4 separate regions of the Homo sapiens genome follow, and all the other regions are linked to region 1. Evidence: promoter capture Hi-C in 16 types of primary human blood cells and fetal thymus (Javierre and others, 2016). All regions are on one chromosome and are shown on one strand. The core of a region is centred on a gene start or on the middle of the fragment in contact, and the rest is flanking DNA. Distances in the headings are between cores, read along the strand shown. Region 1 holds the start of MRFAP1 (Morf4 family associated protein 1). Region 2 overlaps TBC1D14 (TBC1 domain family member 14). Region 3 overlaps TBC1D14 (TBC1 domain family member 14). Region 4 overlaps TBC1D14 (TBC1 domain family member 14).

The links. The method cuts DNA at HindIII sites, captures the fragments that hold promoters and counts their contacts. A CHiCAGO score of 5 or more calls a contact.
Region 2: a contact is called between a fragment that was not itself captured here and the fragment with the promoter of MRFAP1 in region 1, in 9 of 17 cell types (neutrophils, naive CD4 T cells, naive CD8 T cells and 6 more). The highest score is 16.8, in neutrophils.
Region 3: a contact is called between a fragment that was not itself captured here and the fragment with the promoter of MRFAP1 in region 1, in 10 of 17 cell types (total CD4 T cells, naive CD8 T cells, total B cells and 7 more). The highest score is 10.2, in total CD4 T cells.
Region 4: a contact is called between a fragment that was not itself captured here and the fragment with the promoter of MRFAP1 in region 1, in 8 of 17 cell types (naive CD8 T cells, non-activated CD4 T cells, activated CD4 T cells and 5 more). The highest score is 9.8, in naive CD8 T cells.

The regions. Positions count from the first base shown.
Region 1 is chr4:6,639,357-6,641,963 of GRCh38, forward strand. MRFAP1 (Morf4 family associated protein 1) reads left to right here and starts at 1,329. Exons shown (of 2, transcript NM_033296.3): 1 at 1,329-1,902; 2 at 2,374-2,607. The coding sequence starts at 1,507. The coding sequence ends at 1,890. LOC124900653 (a long non-coding RNA gene) reads right to left here and starts at 1,265. Exons shown (of 2, transcript XR_007058007.1): 1 at 1,164-1,265. RefSeq lists an enhancer at 1-323 and a silencer at 2,297-2,366. The HindIII fragment of the contact is 23,430 bases long and covers 1-2,607 here.
Region 2 is chr4:6,989,829-6,992,435 of GRCh38, forward strand. All of the region lies in intron 3 of TBC1D14 (TBC1 domain family member 14), which reads left to right. Among named protein-coding and RNA genes, the nearest start is that of CFAP184, 52 kb to the right of the region's middle. The HindIII fragment of the contact is 3,241 bases long and covers 1-2,607 here.
Region 3 is chr4:6,969,626-6,972,232 of GRCh38, forward strand. The region is part of intron 3 of TBC1D14 (TBC1 domain family member 14); the gene reads left to right. Among named protein-coding and RNA genes, the nearest start is that of TBC1D14, 61 kb to the left of the region's middle. RefSeq lists an enhancer at 1,153-1,790. The HindIII fragment of the contact is 3,338 bases long and covers 1-2,607 here.
Region 4 is chr4:6,912,897-6,915,503 of GRCh38, forward strand. All of the region lies in intron 1 of TBC1D14 (TBC1 domain family member 14), which reads left to right. Among named protein-coding and RNA genes, the nearest start is that of TBC1D14, 4.4 kb to the left of the region's middle. The HindIII fragment of the contact is 2,613 bases long and covers 1-2,591 here.

The DNA.
Region 1 (2,607 bases), core at 79-2,578:
GGCCGGTTTGGTGAAAAGACACCCAGACCCTTCTGACTGTCATCCAAGGAAGAAGGAAAACTACTCTTTAAAAAGGCAGAAAGGGCCAGGCGCACGGCTCATGCCTGTAATCTCTGCACTTTGGGAGGCCCGAAGTGGAAGGATCACTTGAGGCCAGAAGATCAAGGCTGCAGTGAGCCATGATCCCACCACTGGACTCCAGCCTGGGCGACAGACCGAGACCCTGCCTCAATAAAAAAAAAAAACTTTTTAAATAATAATAAGTAAATAAGGCCCGGCACGGTGGCTTACGCCTGTAATCCCAGCACTTTGGGAGGCCGAGGTGGATGGATCACGAGGTCAGGAGATCGAGACCATCCTGGCTAACACGGTGAAACCCCGTCTCTACTAAAAATACAAAAAATTAGCCGGGTGCGGTGGCAGGCGCCTGTAGTCCCAGCTACTCGCGAGGCTGAGGCAGGAGAATGGTGTGAACCCCGGAGGTGGAGTTTGCAGTGAGCCGAGATCGTGCCACTGCACTCCAGCCTGGGCGATAGAGCCAGACTCTGTCTCCAAAAAAAAAAAAAAAAAAAGTAAATAAAACGGCTGAGGGGACTCAGGTCCCCCTGCGTGAAAGGAAGGGGCTTTAAGCGTCCACCTGGGGTAGCTGCATTATCACGTAGGATCCTCCTCTTCTAGTGTGGAAGGCCCTTTTTAATTTTCATTTATATTTTATTTATTTATTTTGCGACGGAGTCTCACTCTGATGCACAGGCTGGAGAGCAGTGGCGCGATATGGGCTCACTGCAACCTCCGCCTCCCGTTTTCAAACGATTGTCTCAGCCTCCCAAGCAGCTGGGGTTACACGCGTGCAACACGACGCCCGGCTAATTTTTGTATTTTTGGTAGAGACGGGGTCTCGCCATGTCGGCCAGGCTGGTCTCGAATTCCTGACCTCAAGCCATCCACCCACCTCGCCTCCCAACGTGCTGAGATTACAGGCGTGAGCCACCGCGCCTGGGAAGTGCGGGAGGCCTTTTTAAAAAATGTAAACTCGCGTGCTCAAGAAGCCCTATCGGAGGGAAACACCCAGAAGAGGCCACCCTCCAAACACAGGGTAAAACAGGGGTGACGCACAGAGGTAACGGGAAAGCAGGAACGAGCGAGAGCGTGCGGTCCCGTACCTGCGCGTGCCTGCGTGCGCGTCCGTGCGGCCGCGACGCCGCCGCCGGTGCCTCTCTTTCTAGACGTGCGCGCGCCCGCAGCTCGCCCCCCTGACCGTAAAGAGGCCCGGCTGTGTCGTGAAAGGGGCCGCAACGCGCAGAGCGCTGGTTGACGGCCGGGACTCCATTTTGTTCGCCGTTACTCTGCGCGTAAGTCGCTTGTCCGTGGCTTCTCTGAGAAGAAAAGTTGAAAAAGGGTAAAAGTTTTCAGGAATATTCGGGCTCTCTATTGCTAAGCATAGCGAGTGTCGGTTTTCTCTCTCCAACAGACATCGCTATTGCGGTTCCGAGGCAGTGGGAAGAGATGCGGCCCCTGGACATCGTCGAGCTGGCGGAACCGGAGGAAGTGGAGGTGCTGGAGCCCGAGGAGGATTTCGAGCAGTTTCTGCTCCCGGTCATCAACGAGATGCGCGAGGACATCGCGTCGCTGACGCGCGAGCACGGGCGGGCGTACCTGCGGAACCGGAGCAAGCTGTGGGAGATGGACAATATGCTCATCCAGATCAAAACGCAGGTGGAGGCCTCGGAGGAGAGCGCCCTCAACCACCTCCAGAACCCGGGCGACGCGGCCGAGGGCCGGGCGGCCAAGAGGTGCGAGAAGGCCGAGGAGAAGGCCAAGGAGATTGCGAAGATGGCAGAGATGCTGGTGGAGCTGGTCCGGCGGATAGAGAAGAGCGAGTCGTCGTGAGCGCGGTCGGCGGTAAGTCGGGCACCCGCGCCAGGCCGAGGAGCGGCCCCAGCTTGGCCGCTCTTCGAGAGCGATGATTTCATCGAGATGCACCGGAATCGGGGGTGGGGCGGGAGAATAAAGGCGTGCTCGGGTCAGGGCCGATCTGGGCCCCGTCTTCGTGTTTTGTTTTTTGACGGTGGCGGCGTGGGATAATCAGAGTGGCCGGGTTTGGGCGTGATGCGTGTTCAGTGGAAGGGTCATAAATCTCAGAGTCGCCAAGGAAACAGAAACGGACAAGGTCCCGGGCCGTCCAGCAAGCGGGGGTGGAAATAGAGGATTTTCGGGGAAGACGTTGGACAAGTCAACGTTGCTAGAGACTGGAGTGAGTCAGGTGGTGGCCAGAAGAGGTGGCGTCCTGCACAGTGGCGTTCGTGAGGGTTTGGGGGTCGTTGTGCCTGGGATTAACCTCTCGATGATGAATTTCTTCCCATTGTGCTTTAGGTTTCCAGCCAATGGATTCTGGTCAACTGGTGGAGATTGGCTGACACCCTGGAGAAGCCGAAACCAGAGAGCCTTTTGTTTTCTCTTTTTTCCTGTCTATGCTCTGTCTCACTTAACACTACGTTTTCTGCTATGGTCTGTGGTTGATGACCTCAATATGAGTTTCGATTGTTAACGTGTTTTTGTTTGGGAAGTAATTTTGTTTGAAAATGCTCTCACATACAGGAATTAGGG
Region 2 (2,607 bases), core at 40-2,539, 350 kb after region 1:
CATCAGACCACACCCCACAAGTTGGCTGCTAGTGAGGTGCTGCTGCCATGTTGGTATGGTCTCGTCTTTCCCAGCGTGATTCCTTATAAGCTGCCCAGAGCAGGGACTTCGAACAACTGTGCTTCTAAACTGACAGCCTGCAAACTTTTTTGAAATTATCCCCAGTTAGACACTTTAAATTGAGACTCATTGTACTGACATAACTAAGTGTAAAGCTGAAGCAAATTGTATTTATGTACTGTGTTTTATTGTTTTGTTTTTTTTAAAAATGCTGTTGTGACCAATCAAACTGATCTGCTGCTAGAACTTTGAAGAACCTTGTTCTAAATTCCTTCTGGGGGCTGGGTGCAGTGGCTCACGCCTGTAATCCCAGCACTTTGGAGGCTGAGGTGGGTGGATCACTTGAGATCAGGAGTTCCAGACCAGCCTGGCCAACATGGCAAAACCCTGTCTCTACTAAAAATACAAAAATTAGCTGGGCCTGGTGGCACGCGCTTGTAATCCCAGCTACTTGGGAGGCTGAGGCAGGAGAATCGCTTGAACCCGGGAGGCAGAGGTTGCAGTGAGCCAAGGTTGCACCACTGCACTTCAGCCTGGGTGACAGAACGAGACTCCTCAAAAATAAATAAATAAATTCCCTTTAGGGTTGTCCAGGGTGGCAGCTGTCACTTAAGTGGGCAGTTTATTTTACCTGTTAGTCTGCAGGGATTTTGACGAGCACAGCAAGACGGGCATCGATGCTTGGTTTAAACCAAGAGACTTCAAAATTTGGTCCCATGCAGAGATGGAACTTGGGAATGATGAGTTGGACTGAAGTGGACCGCACCAGTACTTGCCTGGCACACAGAAAGGGCTTGGCACTTGAGGGAGTGAGTGCCCAGCCATTTTACATATCTTATCTCTTGACCGCCACAGTGGTCTGTACAGTTGCTACTGTTTTATAGCTGAGAACAGACTGAGAGACAAGACGACTCACCCAAGCCAGGACCTAGAACTCTGGTTTTACTTCCAGAGCCTTATCCCTTGCTAGCCCGACCTTAGCGCTGATAATCCACAACTGAGTGTTCTTTCTCCAGTGCTGTTTCTTCCCTCCGGGATCCTGGGAGTGAACAGTCCTCTTTCTTCTTTCTAAAGTTGGTTTGTCTGGCCTGGACAGTGAGCTTACTGTTGTCACCTCCAGGTTGCCCTGGGAGAACCGGGTCTAGAGCAGGACCTGTCACCATTTCCAACACCATTTCTCTTCTGAAAGGGTGCCTAAGGTTTTGGAAAGGGCTTTGCCTGGGATTTCAAGTATGAGCAGGCTAGGCCACCTGTGTTACTTTATTATTTTAATCATGCCTTGGTCTGTGATTAAAACAAGCATTTGACCCTGCGTCTCTGCTGATCTGTGCACTTAGTTCAGTATTTGAGGTTTCGGTCACGGTTGTGAAAACTACTGAGACTGAATCTGAATGATGGATTACTTCTGATGCATGTCTGCCAGAGGCTTGCATGAATTCTGTGATGAGGAGTGTGGCTGCGGAACCCCAGCGCGTGGCCTGTGACCCAGCTTCCCCACTTGCCCGCCGGGTAAGTCACGGACACCTCTGGGTCCCCGTGTGTGTTTGGTGCACAGGGAGTGCTGGAGAAACAGCAGCCCTTGTTGGTCTGTGGCACTTGCTTTTTCTCCCCCTCAGACCTGAAACCACTGGAAGAGGCAGGAAACCATGCCTGCCTCAGGTAGCCTGCATCCCTGCTTTTTTTTCTTGAACCTTCGTTGGGCCATCTGACCACAGCCACAGCTTTGCGCTGGTGAGGTACAGCGTGTCCTTGTGCAGCTGTCTTGTTGGCGTGGTCTGGGATGGGGCAGCCCCTTCGGGGGGCTGGTGTGGAGGAAATGGAGTTAACCCAGCATGGTCTAGGGTGGAGCAGCCCCTTCGGGGGGCTGGTGTGGAGGAGATGGAGTTAACCCAGTGTGCACGCGTAAAGCACTCAGAGGTGCTGGGCTTGTTAGCGTCAGCCGCCGCCACTGTTTGTTGCTGTTGGTAATAGTAAGAAGCTCTGACTGAAGCGATCTGATGTTTCTGGTCATGACTCAAGGCTTTTACTTCCTTTTACTCCTACTTTTTGTATCTGTGCTGTTGGCAACTTGGCAGGGCTCCTAGATTGTTGTTTGGCACTAGAGCATGGTTTTCTGCCTTTCCCGTGGTTTCAGGTCTGAGGGGAGAGAAAGCTAGTGGCGCAGACCAACAAGGGCTGCCCTTCTCCAGCACTCCCTGTGCACCAGAGGCTGTGACATCACCTCATTCCTTCCAGCAGCCCACTCAGGGTGAGGCAGGCGGGGTTTCCCATTTTGCAGATGTGGAAAGAAGGCTTAGGGATTTGAAGTGAGTACCTTGCCCGAGGTCACAGCTGGTGGTTGGTGGATCTGAATTTGCTCCCAGAGCTATCTGGCTGCAGAGGCCACACCTAAGCCGTGTAGGACTCGGGCTTTCCCCTCTAAAACTGCACACCTGTGGGTTTGAGTGTATTCACAGATGATATTGGGCCGGCTCAGGGCGGCAGGCCCAGCCTTGCTGGCTGTATGCTTCAGGCAAGTCACTTCACTTTGAGCCTCAGTTACCCTGT
Region 3 (2,607 bases), core at 34-2,533, 330 kb after region 1:
CAATCTCCTGACCTTGTGATCCACCTGCCTCGGCCTCCCAAAGTGCTGGGATTACAGGCATGAGCCACCATGCCCGGCCCGACCCTGTTTTTTTTTTGAGGGGAGCATGGATTATGTTCTTGACCTTAGAGGATTTTTTTTTTTCTGTGAACTGAAATGACTAGGCCAGTTCATTATGCGGTAACACAATATTGCCAAGAGGAGGACCATCTGCTTCCGTCGTCAATAATAAAGAATGTAACTTACCTGCGCGAGTCATTCAATCCTGCCCGGGACCTGCTTGCTTGTCTCTGGCCCTCTCATCGCTCATCTCCCAACCCAAGGGACTTGGTGAAGCCTGGGAGGGGCTCAGGGTCAGGGACTCAGCACTGTGGGGAGGCCTCTGCGCTGCTGGCTGGGGCTGGCTGCTGTCATAGGCATGGGCTCACACAGCCTGCACTTGAGAGAGGCAGGCGCTGGGGCCATGACAGCCTAGACTTGTGATCAGGATGGTGACAATAACTCCAGTCAGGGCCGAAGCCTAGAGAAAGTGTTGAGGAAATTCCTTTTCCTTCTCTGGAAGTTTTCTTATTACTTGAGAGAGCAACATCACGTGGTGACATAAGAACTTGGACTTTGGAGTTAGACTACCAGGGTTTGTATCCCAGCTCTGCTACGGTTTGGTTGTGTGACTTTGGGCAAGTTATTTAACCTTTCTGAGCCTCATTTTCCTCATCTCTACAGTATGGAGAACAGTAGCACCTGCCTCCATGGTGGTGAGGATTAAACGGGTGAATACACACACGCACTCAGAATAGTAGTGGACATAGAAAGTATTTGCTGTTACCGTTGTTTCTTTCTTATGACAAGTCAACCTTGAACAACAGGAAATGGAACAACGGAACACAGTGCAAGAGAATGAGCCTGAGCTCTTCAGTGCATTCTTCATCTGCTTGGCCAACAAGTACTGAGCCATGTTGAGGCCAGGTCTTGTGCTGCGCACTGGGAGCCCAAGAGCAGTTGGGTTGACCTACCTCAAGGAGCCTGTGGCTGAGCTGGGGTCAGGTGTTCACACTGGCCAGGAGCTTTGGACCTGCCTCAAGGAGCCCGTGGCTGAGCTGGGGTCAGGTGTGCACACTGGCCAGGAGCTTTGGACCTGCCTCAAGGAGCCCGTGGCTGAGCTGGGGTCAGGTGTGCACACTGGCCAGGAGCTTTGGACCTGCCTCAAGGAGCCCGTGGTTGAGCTGGGGTCAGGTGTGCACACTGGCCAGGAGCTTTGGACCTGCCTCAAGGAGCCCGTGGTTGAGCTGGGGTCAGGTGTGCACACTGGCCAGGAGCTTTGGACCTGCCTCAAGGAGCCTGTGGTTGAACTGGGGTCAGGTGTTCACACTGGCCAGGAGCTTTGGACCTGCCTCAAGGAGCCTGTGGCTGAGCTGGGGGTCAGGTGTTCACACTGGCCAGGAGCTTTGGACCTGCTTCAAGGAGCCTGTGGTTGAGCTGGGGTCAGGTGTGCACACTGGCCAGGAGCTTTGGACTTGCAGGCTTGGGTTTGGTTTCTGGCTTCACCACTTTTTGTCTCTGTTGAGCCAATGACTACTTCTCAGTTTCCTCATCTGCTAAACAGGCATTATGACATCTACTTGCTTAATTGTTCTACACTAAGGGATAATGCGCATGTGGTGTATTTTTGCCCAGGGTTGAACACAGTGAGTCGCCCGGCGTTACTAGTCAAGGAATGGATGTCTTGACTTTTAATCAATAGGTCCGATTTGTGGTGTTGATCCCATATGTGGTTTGCCCAGGACATTTGCCCAGTACATCGGATTTTATTCTAACTGGGCTGCATTCTTTTGGCTTGGGCCTTATATATTACTATTTTGGGGAAATATTGAAATGTTAACTTTTAGTTATCTTTTCAAATTGCATAAACATTTTGAAAATTAAGTCATATTTTTTGTTAACCTCGATGGTAGTTTGAGAGCGATTTTCTTAACAGGGGAAACAAAAATGACCACGGGTAGGAGAATAACAGTACAACAGTGGCTGTCCAGTTGCGGTCCCCGGAGTAGTCACATCAGCATCACCCGGGCATTTGCTAGAAATGCACGTTCTCGGGCCTTACTCCAGACACATCAAACCAAGTTCTGGGGCTGGGGCCCAACAAGTTTTGTTTTAACAGAAGCTACAGGTCATTCTAATGCATGCCAAAATTTAAGAACTATCGGTATGCAGGAAGAGAATGTTAGCTATTGGAAGGAAAATAGCCATCTTTGCCACAGCAGGTTAAATAAAGGGCCCAAAGCCCACCGGCCAGGCAAATTTCAGTAACTGCTGGTGAACCGGAGAAGTTATTGTGGATAAAGATGGGAGCATGTATTTGGAGAGAGCTGCCTTCAGGCCTCTGGTTGCTGGCTTTGTATGAGCTGGACTCTGGCCAGGGCAGCATGGATGGTGACACTGCCTCGGAAGTGCAGTCCTTTGCCTTGTGAGTAAAGGGGAACCTTCTTTCTTGGATTCCATGGCCCTTTTGTTTGTTTCACAGATTTGAGCCTCTGAGTAGATCCATCCTGAGATTACAGTGAAGGGCAAAGACTTCTGTGGCCCTTGCCTTCGTTGGAATTTACCATG
Region 4 (2,607 bases), core at 35-2,534, 270 kb after region 1:
AGGAGCTGGGACTTGAACCCAGGCAGCCTGCTGCTGGAACCTGCATTATTTTTTCCCTCCTGTTGATTTTGTTTTGTTTTTTGTTTTGTTCTGTTCTATTCTATTCTATTTTTTGAGACAGCGTTTCGCTCTTGTTGCCCAGGCTGGAGTGCAATGGTGTGAGATCTCGGCTCACTGCAACCTTTGTCTCCCAGGTTCAAGCGATTCTCCTGCCTCAGCCTCTCCAGTAGCTGGGATTACAGGCATGTGCCACCATGCCTGGCTAATTTTGTATTTTTAGTGGAGACAGGGTTTTGCTATATTGGCCAGGCTGGTTTTGAACCCCTGACTTCAGGTGATCCACCTGCCTGGGCCTCCCAAAGTGCTGGGATTACAGGCGTGAGCCACCACGCCTGGCCTATTTTATTTTTAAAACTTCATTTGCAGCCTAACAAACATACATAGAAGTGTAAGAATGGTTAAGTGTTCAGCTTATCGATGATCAGGGTTATTGGGTGAATATACCTTTTGGGCAACATTAAGGGAGCTGAGAGGAAGGGGGATAAAGTTTAGGGACTGCATTCATAAGTACGCCAGCAGGCCATGTATGAGCTTTGATGTCAGATCTGGTTTGAACTCAGTTTCTGTTGCTGTGTGACCTTGGGTGCGTGACTTAGCCTCTCTGAATCTCATAGTTTCCTCAGTGCCCTTGGCAGGCTTGTGATTATTAGAGCATGTGATGGCATCCCGCATGCTTGGTGCATGCTAAATGCTCAGTAAATTATTTCTCTTATGAATAATTAAGATTATAAACTATACCGGTTTTAAGTAGTCTAAATATCTTCCTAATGTATCATTTGCCTCCCAGTCACTTCACAGCTACTTAGGAAAATTAGTTAATTAGTAATTTACCAAATCACTAAGTGAAGCTGAAACATTTTGCATTGAAAGTCTTTAATTTAAAATGTCCTGGCCAGGCGCTGTGGCTCATGCCTCTAATCCCAGCAGTTTGGGAGGTTGAGGAGGGTGGATCACTTGAGCTCAGGAGTTCAAGACCAGCCTGGGCAACATGGTGAAACCCTACCAAAACAACAACAACAACAACAAAAAATTAGCTGGGTGGACGTGGTGGCGGGCACCTGTGGTCCCAGCTACTCAGGATGCTGAGGTGGGAGGCTCACTTGAGCCTGGGAGGTGGAGGTTGCAGTGAACCAAGATCATACATCTGTACTGCAGCCTGGGTGACAGAGACCCCATCTCAAAAAAAAAAAAAAAGTTCCACCTGTGCCTTTAATCATAACCAGTGGTCAGTATAAGTTAAGTGTCCGCTTCTTCGGGTTGTGAAGGAGCCTTTGAGGACCCTGAACAATAACCGCAGTTTCTGCCTGGTTTGCCGAAACATACATGGGCTGAAACTTACTTAAACAGCATTGTGTTAAGTTCCAGGTGTCTGAAAGTTGCCACTCACCCTCTGGAGGAATATGTGAGCTTCTAGGAAATTTTTTTCAGGACTATTTTTATCCTAAAGAATCACCCATTTAAAAGCCAAACTACTTTTATAATGGCCTTTTCCATTTTACATAATGCAGATCAATCCACTGTTTTAGGCTGTGTGTGTAGCAGTGGAAACAGTGAGTGCCTCGGCTACTCAGGCTAGCCCGGCACAGCTCTGTTACTACGCACCACCCTTTAGACCGCAGTCTTCTTTCAGCTCTTTGGGTGGTTGTGGAGGTGACAGAACTAGTGCATATAGACATGGAATGCAGTGCCTGATGTGTCATCTGCGCTTGGGGAGCGGAGGCAGCTAGCTGGTCATGTTCGTGAGCCTGGAGCGTCCAGTCCTTTCTGCCTGAGCCAGGACTTGAATTAAAAAAGAGAAAGAGGCTGGGCTCAATGGCTCACATCTGTAATCCCAGCACTTTGGGAGGCTGAGGCAGGCGATCACTTGAGGTCAGGAGTTTGAGACTAGCCTGGCCAACAGGGTGAAACCCTGTCTCTACTAAAAATACAAAAATTAGCCGGGCGTGGTGGTGGGCGGCTGTAATCCCAGCTACTCAGGAGGCTGAGGCAGGAGAATCGCTTGAACCCGGGAGGCGGAGGTTGTGGTGAGCCCAGATCATGCCACTGCACTCCAGCCTGGGCGACAGAGTGAGACTCTGTCTCAGAAACAAAACAAAAAGAGAAAGAGATGCAGGGGTTGGTGCTTGTGGAGCCCTCTACCAGGCAGGCCAGTTCACAGGGAGGTGCCCCATTGCCCAGTGGGTTCTCCTTGGCATTAGAGGCTCGACTGGGCTGTTTCTCTTGAACCGTGCTGCCCTCCAGGGCAGGACGCTCATAAGAGCAGCTGCTTTTATGAGGAGGCTCTTAGTCTCCCCAGAATCCTCACCAGGAAACATGGGGGACCCTGAGAGGCCTTGCGGAGAATGCTGTGGGTGCTGGGGACAGATGCCTCAGGTCAACCCCCTGCGACCGGGGTAGGGGGTTGGGGGTCACTGCACCTGCTCAGCCCAGTTTTGTTATTCCCATCTGGAAACGGTAGAACTCAGCATGCTGTTTACAGGGTGAGGTGAGCAGAGGTGCTTATGTCTGTGACATGCCTTTGTGAGCAGCAAAGCTTACTGAGGGGCC